Linked DNA regions of Homo sapiens: region 2 is linked to region 1. Evidence: promoter capture Hi-C in 16 types of primary human blood cells and fetal thymus (Javierre and others, 2016). All regions are on one chromosome and are shown on one strand. Each heading gives the region's core, a stretch centred on a gene start or on the middle of the fragment in contact. The rest is flanking DNA. Distances are from core to core; before and after follow the strand shown. Region 1 holds the start of ST7L (suppression of tumorigenicity 7 like). Region 2 overlaps RSBN1 (round spermatid basic protein 1).

Region 1 (4,262 bases), core at 1,167-3,666:
ATTTTGGCCGGCCGCGGTGGCTTACGCCTGTAATCCCAGCACTTTAAGTGGCGAAGACGGATGGATCGTTTGAGCCCAAGAGTTTGAGACCGGCCTGGGCAACAAGACGAAACCCACTCTCTACAAGAAATACAAAAATTAGCTGGACTTGGTGGCGGGTGCCTGTAATCCCAGCTACTCGGGAAGCTGAGGCAGGAGAATAATTTGAACCAGGGAGGCGGAAGTTGCAGTGAGCCGAGCGAGACTCCGTCTCAAAAAAAAAAAAAAATTGTTTAGTTGTATTGTAACAGGATTTTTGCTTAATTTTATTTGAATAGTAACTATTTGCCTTAGAACAATTTATTATAGATCGATTTCCAGCATAGGCTTATACATAAATGTTTTTGTCCTAAATCTTAAACATGTATGAAGATCAGTTTCCAAATAAGAGAAAATCTAACGCTGTTGTCAATGGCTTGTTAAACATTTCAAAATGGCATGCCATATCTACATATATCAAGTTATTCCGTACAGAGGACTTATGGATCATAACAGTCCCCTTCCCATCCCAACTTCTTATTGAAAAAAACACCCAGGTAGATTTACAGAGCACTCAAGGGGACACATTTTCTAATAGCCACAGTGGGAGACAAATGTCATAATTCTTGTCCAATAAGTTGCCTTGTGAGGTCATTCTAAGTTCTACGTGCCCTAAAACCATGTACTTACTGAAAAGCCTGACAAACTGTTATGAAACTGTGCAACTGTCAGAAGAAAAGTTATTCCACCTTAGAATGTGCTCTTGTATTTAAGACCCTTTTCAAGAAATGAGCATACAAAATGCACACTGACAAATTCAACTGATCAAAGACTCCACAGTGGAGCATCAAAGAAGGCAGGATGCTTTGTTCAGTCTTGAACGTGTTAACATAAGGTTTATTATGTGTTACAGAAAACCTTTCTGGAGGTTAAGAAAATCCATCAGCTATTCTAGATTTGTTAACAAGAAACAAAATTTTCAAAAATTATCGTTAAAAGGGATGTGTCTATAGGGAAAGACTGGTGTTCAAATTCTGAAGCAAATGCCCTGAGGCTCACAGATTTATTATAGCGAATCAGACAGGCGACAGTACAGGAGAAAAGTAGTGCATGTGTAGGGAGATGGACAACATTTGGGACCTCTCCTTGTCGAAGAGTCGTGACAGCAAAATCACTTCCTGAGGAAGGAGGAGCAAAAGGGAAGTTAAGAGGCCATCCTGACCAGGAAGTGACTCGCCCTAAACTAACCCCAATTATATCTACAAATGGGGGGATGGGGTGAGCCCCAACTGCTAAAGGCGGTAAAATAACTGCTTTTTGATATGTCGCAACATAACCACCACCCTCTCGCAAAATTACAGAAAAAAGTCCACAGTCACGATCCAATAAAGGAAACGTCTGTTCCCTTGCAGGGAGGCCCCTGGGCTGTGCCTCAGGCCTGAGAGAAAAGGAGAGTCGAGGAACGAGGAACTGGGGCCACCGTGAGGCAGAGGAAAGCCCCCTAAGAGGGAAGCGTCCCGACTGCGGAGAGCGTATGTCAGCATGGACCAAGAAGCTTCTTTTTCCTGGGGACACTGCTAGGCTCCCAACGCAGCCGGGCCGGGCCCCAGTTCCCTGTCGGGGGAGGAGGTAAGAGAGAGAGGCGGACCCCTTACCTTCTCCTCATCCGACACACGATCATCGAAGTCGGCCATCTTGGGCTGTTCTGGCCCAGCCCGGCTACGGGCGCGAGGCAGGCCGGGAAGAAAGCCGAGTGATGGAATCACCGCGGCGGCCGTCGGAAGGACCCGCCCGGAAACGCCGACCAAGAGGGCCCCATGTCAGTTATGCGCGGGAGTGACGTCTCCTAACGCCAGCGCCCGCGCCCGCGCCCCAGGAAGTAGGGTTTGCCTTAGGTGATTTGAAGTCTAATATCTTTCCCAATGAGTTACACTCATTTCCCATCCATCTAATGGGCGCTGGCAGCGTGTTTCGATTATTCTTGGCTTCTGGCCTCCATCCGACCAAATAGCTGTTGCTACTCCTACAAGTTTTTCTGGTGCCCGTTATCTCCACGACAGCCGAATCCAAAGCTTTAAGAGCTGCTCGGCAGCTGGAACGATCGGTGGCTTTTCCAACCCCGGGGGGGGGGCGGTGTGAAAGGTGACCCTCATTTCGTTTGGAAGCGGTAACACTTCGGGGTCACATCTCAGTCCAGTTCCTCCAGAATAGGCGCTGCTGTCCGCCCCTTCCCTGCCCCACGAAAGAACAGGTAGCCCCAATCTTGAGACACGCTCCTCCACCTTCGAAATCTTCTCGGTCCCGGTTCCCCAGGACTCAGCCTTCACAGAGGCCAACTTCAGGTCCGCCACTATCCCAGGATTCCCGACTCCCGGTTTCCTGTCCTTCTCCCCTCCCAGCTCCTGGCGCCTGCGATAGCGGCAAGATGGCGGACCGTGGCGGCGTGGGTGAAGCCGCAGCTGTTGGAGCGTCTCCTGCATCTGTCCCTGGCCTAAACCCGACGCTAGGCTGGAGGGAGCGACTGCGGGCCGGGCTGGCGGGGACTGGGGCCTCGTTGTGGTTCGTGGCGGGGCTGGGGCTGCTTTACGCCCTGAGGATCCCTTTGAGGCTGTGTGAGAATTTGGCAGCGGGTGAGAGGACCAGACCTCCTGGGGCAGGGCGGGGGGCCAGGAGAGATGTCGGGGGCAAGAGCCAAAGGGCAAGAGATTCTCGGTAGTCCTAGAGGGCCTCTGAGGAGTCGATGATGAGCGATCAAGTGAGTTCTTTTTCTTTTGGGCTGCAACCTTGCAGTTGATTGACAAGCCTGCTGCCGTTACCGGCTCCTCCGTAGAACTCTTAAGGTCCGCCCTCTCTCTTATGTCCTCGTTTTTCCATGGAAAAGCCACCTGACAAGCTATAAGCTTCAGGTATTAGGACAGAAGAGTGTCTCAGATTAGGATACGTAATTTATATTGGCTCCCCCACCTCTGGTAGGATCCCTTAAAAGTCACTACTTTGAGTCTCCCGCTGCCCAGCTGAAAGAACTCATATCCAGGCAACAAAGATGAGCACATCTGTAATTTAAAGATTTCAGAGAAAGAAAATGGCATGATTTTAATTGAGGATTCTCTTGTTTTAAAATAGTTCTGTTAAGAAATCGTTTTCGTGATAGTTTTGTCTGTTCTTTTAGGCTTATCTTGAGTAATAAAATAGTACAGGAAGTGAGAGCGCCACAAACAACAGTGGGTTTGCTAGTTCTTTCGACGTCTGTAGAACACTTGCTACGTATTCTGTGCTGACAATACGAACACATGTAAGAAGTGATGATCCTGATGGATTCTCATATACTGTACTATTCTTTAGCTGTAGACAGGATGAAGTGTTTAGGGCCCAGGTCCCCTTACCATGTGATTATATTTCACTCAAGATCTGAGCAGCAACCTCAGAACAAGATATAAGTATTTCCATTACATGATTCAGTATGGTGGTTGATTTTTCTGAAGCAAAAGGCAGCAAATGTCCCCTTTCCTGTTCAGAGATGACATGAAAGACTGTGAGTTAATGTTCGGAAATATTTTGGTTTTTTTGGAGGATAGGTATCAAGTTCAAATATAACTAGCACTCTAAAATAAGCTAAACTGAAGAGCTAATTTGGCATCTCTGTAACAGGTGAATGAAGTGCTTAACGGTGGTTTCTATGCACAGTGTTACTGATTGACTTGTCATTTATTTTTCTACGTTAACCATATGCAACATTTAGATGAGAATAGTTGATTACTATAGATTTTTCTTTTTTACGTTTCGTGTGTGTGTGTGTGTGTGTGTGTGTGTGTGTGTGTGTGAGAGAGAGAAAGACAGACAGAGTCTCCCTTTGTCACCCAGGCTGAAGTGTAGTGGCAAGATCACTGCAGCCTTGAACTCTTCTGCTTAAGCGATCCTCTGGCCTCAGCCTCCCAAGTAGCTGGGACTGCAGGCGTGCACCACCACGACTGGCTGAGTTTTAAATTTTGCGTAGAGACTGGGTCTATTTTATTTGCCCAGGCTGGTCTTGAACTTCTGGCTACCAGTGATCCTCCTGCCTTGGCCTCCCAAAACTCTGAGATTATGGGAGTGAGCCATCCTACCTGGCCAGATTTTTATTTTCTTTCTAAAACCCACAGTACTTATGAGATAATTATTTGAAGTGAAAAATCTGCTCCAGGATTTCAGTAACTCAGGGAGATTTCTGTTTGTTGCTTTTCTCTTTGAGCCATTTTGCCTCTCTA
Region 2 (4,262 bases), core at 462-2,961, 1.2 Mb before region 1:
CAAGCATGGGAAGTTAAATGTGTTTAGATACATAAAAACTTACCATTGTGTTTCAGGTATCTACGGCAGGGGTCCTCAACTGTACTGGTCCCCCAGTACTGGTCTGTGGCCTGTTAAAAACCTGGCTGCAGCAAGCTATAATAGCATTGCTGCTTGAGCTCCGCCTCCTGTCAGATAACCTGCAGCATTCGATTCTCATAGGAGTGTGAACTCTGTTGTGAATTGTGCATGCGAGGGATCTAGGTTGCACACTTCTTATGAGAATATGACTAATGCCTGATGATCTGAGGTGGGTCAGTTTCATCCAGAACCATGCCTGCCAACCCCCTGCCCTTTTCCGTGGAAAAATTGTCTTCCACAAAACCAGTCCCTCATGCCAAAAAGATTGGGGACCACTGGACTACAGTATTCAGTACAATAACATGCTGTAAGTTTTGTAGCCTAGGAGCAATAGGCTATGTCATATAGCCTAGGTGTGTAGTAGGCTATACCACTTAGATTTGTGTAAGTACAAGCTGTGATGTTCTCAACCACAAATTGCCTAATGACATTTCTCAGAATGTATTTCTGTCATTAGGTGACACATGACTGTACAATAAACTTGTGGTAAATGAATGACACCTGCTTTCCTGTAACTCATGTTACAGGCCTCCAAGTATTTGAAGACTGTTGTGTCCCTCCTTTAATCTTTTCAAGTTAAATACTTTTGAAATACTTTTGATTTCTTGCATTCTTCCTCCATTTTGTATGGTTTGCAAGTCCCTAATCACTTTAAATGTTCTATTTTGGGTGTGCCCTAGTTATAGATATTTTTTAGGCCAGATCGGGAGATCACACCCCAGATGATATCTCTGTGCAATGCAGAATATTGCCTCCCTCATTACAAAGTATACAAGGTATAGGCTAAAAAACCATAACAATGAGGACCAATGTGCAGTGGCTAGAACAAAAGTTTGTCTCTTGTTTAGCAGTCCCGAGGTAAGCAACTCTGTTCCTTGTTGTCATCCAGGATGCTAGTTTCCTTCTGTCTTTAATTTTTGTCGTTCCTACTGGTGTTGTCATGTGCATGATTGAGACTAGCTCTTTACCACTCTGTGTTGCAGCCCTCAAAAGAGAAAAAGGAAGTGGAGGGCAAGCCACTTCCTTATAAAGGTATGCCCTGAAGATTGCATATGTAACTTATGTGACTGTCTCATTGGCCCAAACTTAGGCACAGGCCGCATTTAGCTGTCAGGGAGCCTAGCTTATTGGCCATATGCCCAGGAAATTTTCTTACTAAAAAGAAGGAATACTTTGCTTGTTTGGCATTAGTTTCCTACAGTTGGTGAATGTTTTTTTGTTTTATCTATTTTTTTCTCTCTTTTTTTTTTTCTTGTCAGCCTTTTCAGGTTGAAAGTTGGTGCATGTTGAATTTGTGGTCATAACTGCTGTTCATTGTTATGCTGTTAATTATTTAAATGTATCACAAACATTTGCATTTATTAAATTTTTAAATGCAAGTGATAGACTGGTAATCAGCAGTTCTTCTTCTCCCCCTCCACCCCTTTTTTTTCTTTTTGCCAGAGTTTGTGGTTGATTACTTCATTTCTAGCCTTAACATACAGAAATTCAACAAATATTTATGACTACATACCAGGCACTTTGTATTACAGATATATAATATTGAATAATACAGATTGTTCTCTTTCACAAAGTTTGTATTCAAACATATTGCTTGATTTCTTTTGTGAGTGGTTTAAATTGGGGGTTGGCAAACTTTTTCTATTAAGGACCAGATAGTATTTTCTGCCCTGTGGCCTAAAATTTATGTAAATAATTCAAACAACCCAATAACAACAACAACGAAATAATCTGATTTAAAAGTGGGCAAAAGACCTAAATAGACATTCTGAAATTTGAAGACATACAACAGGTATATGAAAAAATGTTCAACATAATTCATCATCAGGGAAATGGAAGTCAGAACTACAATTAGATATCACCTCACCCCAGTTCTGGCTGTTAACAAAAAGACAAAAAATAAATGCTGGTGAGGATATGGAAAAAGGAGAACTTTTATACAGTTAATGTCAATCTAAATTAGTACAGACATTATGGTCAACAGTGTGGATGTTCCTTAAAAAATTAAAAATAGAACGACCACATGACCAAGCAATTCCACTTCTTGGTATATGTCCAACTCAAGGAAATTTAATCAGTATGTTGAAGATCTGCATTTCCATGTTTATTGCAGCACTATTCATAACAGCCAGTTTGTTTTTCTTAAAAAATAGTTGTCCTTGACCATTTTTGAAACGTTATTCTTACATCATTTTAATTGCATTACTTCTTAACTCATCCTTTCACAATTTCTTTAGCTAACTCTTCCTCCTGTCTGTCAAATATCTGTTTTCCTTTAAGTGCAGTTCTTGGTTCTGTCTCTTTCTATTCTTTCTCTCAAGTCTTAGTCACTTAAAAAATTATATGTTATAGACAATTTCCAAATCTATGCATCTATTCCTTACCTTTTTTGATCTAGTTATAACTCCAAATCTAACTTACCTAAAATCTGTAAATGTTATGTACTTTCGTTCTTTGAGCTTGAAACCTTATTTTGAGTCATTTTATACCATCAAGGAAATATAGGAGTTGTAAAGGTGGACAATAACATGTGAAAACTTGTGGAGGCAGCAGAAATTATTTAGAATTTGCGAAATGTATATTTAGAATGTGGCAAATGTGGAGAATGTGGCAAATCTTGGTCTGTTATTCCCTTGGAATAATAGATCAGGAGGGGCTTTGTCTTCCTTAAAAAGGATTTTCTAGTTTGATGCTACAGGTAATATGGAGCTACTAAAGGATTTAAAATGGGAAGGTTGAATGATAAGATGTTTTTTCCTAGATTATTTGTAGCAGTATGTAGGATGGCTCTTGGGGATAGGAATCCTGAAGCAAGGATACTGGTTAAGAGGTTTTACAATTAGGTGAGAAATGATAATTTCCTGAATTAAGGCAGTGGTACTGCAGATTTAGTTAGAAGGATAGATTTTGATTTAAGTGATGAGGAAGAGGGATTTATCAATTCCTGATTTAGGACCTGAGAAAATGAATATTATTAACCGGCGAAGTACATACAGAAGGAGAAAAAGAAGGTTTGGGAGGGGAAGGGAACCTTACAAAAAAACGAGCTCTGTTTTGTAGGTATTAAATTTGAGGGTGTCTGTGGGCTGCCCAGGAGGCATTTGTATGTTAAGATCTGAATCTGAGGCAGAGTTTTAAGTTAGAGATGTAGATATGGAATGTAGTAGGGTACAGGTGGTAGTTAAATCTGTAGTATAATTGAAACCACCCACAGATAATATGTGGAATGAAAACTGGGCCAACTCTGCAACAACCACGTTTTGGAGAGGAGGAAGCCTGGAAAGGGAAATCAAGAAAGCAGGTGATTGCAAAGCATTCCTTGAATTTGGTTGTGAAGAGGTCATCAGTGATTTGTTTCAGGGGAGTGGTATGGGCAGAAGCCTGATTGCAATGATATGAGATGTGAATAAAAGGTGAGGTGAGGCAATAGAGACAGGTACTACAGACTAGTATTACAGAAGTAGGATTCTTATGTGAAAAAGGTATATATATCTTGGTGCTTTTGATGGCAAGTTGCAGGATAGTCAATTTTAAAATGGGCTTAAATGATGAAAGAGATTTATTGGCCTATGGAATGGAAAAGTCCAGAGGTGGGATGGATAGTTTGAATGTTTCAGGCCTGGGGTTTGCAGGCAGGGCTGGTGGAAGGACTGGGATAGAGGATGAGAGTGTGTTTATGAGAGAGGGATAAACCTTGAGGTTTAGACTAGATATGGAAGCAGCTGAAAGAAGGAGGGGACTGATACTGAGAAAAAAACGTAGGTCACAGAAAGCTAGAGGTCTAATTTCATGTAAGTAAAGGAATGAAAACAGGAAGGTTGTGGTTTACTAATAAGGGCTTTCTCTAGCTAGGCTAAGTTAGCTACAGTTATCCAAATAGGCTTTATACATTGCAGCTTTCAAAATCCAGTCCTAGTATTTTGTAGCATAGTTGTTTACTTGATGGCTCTTCTGCCAGGAAATAAAAATTGAACATTGTTAATTCTTTGTCACTCATGGATACAACATTGGTACTCACACAAAGGTGTGAACCTGAAGATCCTCGTAAGATGAGAAGCTTTTCTTTGTGTATATATGAAAATAAACATGTTGGTCTTGGCGAAATTATGAGGTCGCTATATTTTGTGGTCATACCCTTTCTT

Evidence for each region. The method cuts DNA at HindIII sites, captures the fragments that hold promoters and counts their contacts. A CHiCAGO score of 5 or more calls a contact.
Region 2: a contact is called between a fragment that was not itself captured here and the fragment with the promoter of ST7L in region 1, in 1 of 17 cell types (naive CD4 T cells). The highest score is 6.9, in naive CD4 T cells.

The regions. Positions count from the first base shown.
Region 1 is chr1:112,617,295-112,621,556 of GRCh38, reverse strand. It overlaps ST7L (suppression of tumorigenicity 7 like), which reads left to right and starts at 2,416. Exons shown (of 15, transcript NM_017744.5): 1 at 2,416-2,648. The coding sequence starts at 2,444. CAPZA1 (capping actin protein of muscle Z-line subunit alpha 1) reads right to left here and starts at 1,725. Exons shown (of 10, transcript NM_006135.3): 1 at 1,674-1,725. The coding sequence starts at 1,712. RefSeq lists enhancers at 1,443-1,892, 1,045-2,244, 2,353-2,452. The HindIII fragment of the contact is 828 bases long and covers 2,093-2,920 here.
Region 2 is chr1:113,780,567-113,784,828 of GRCh38, reverse strand. The region is part of intron 2 of RSBN1 (round spermatid basic protein 1); the gene reads left to right. Among named protein-coding and RNA genes, the nearest start is that of PHTF1, 23 kb to the right of the region's middle. RefSeq lists a silencer at 3,849-3,958 and an enhancer at 4,069-4,118. The HindIII fragment of the contact is 4,937 bases long and covers 1-4,179 here.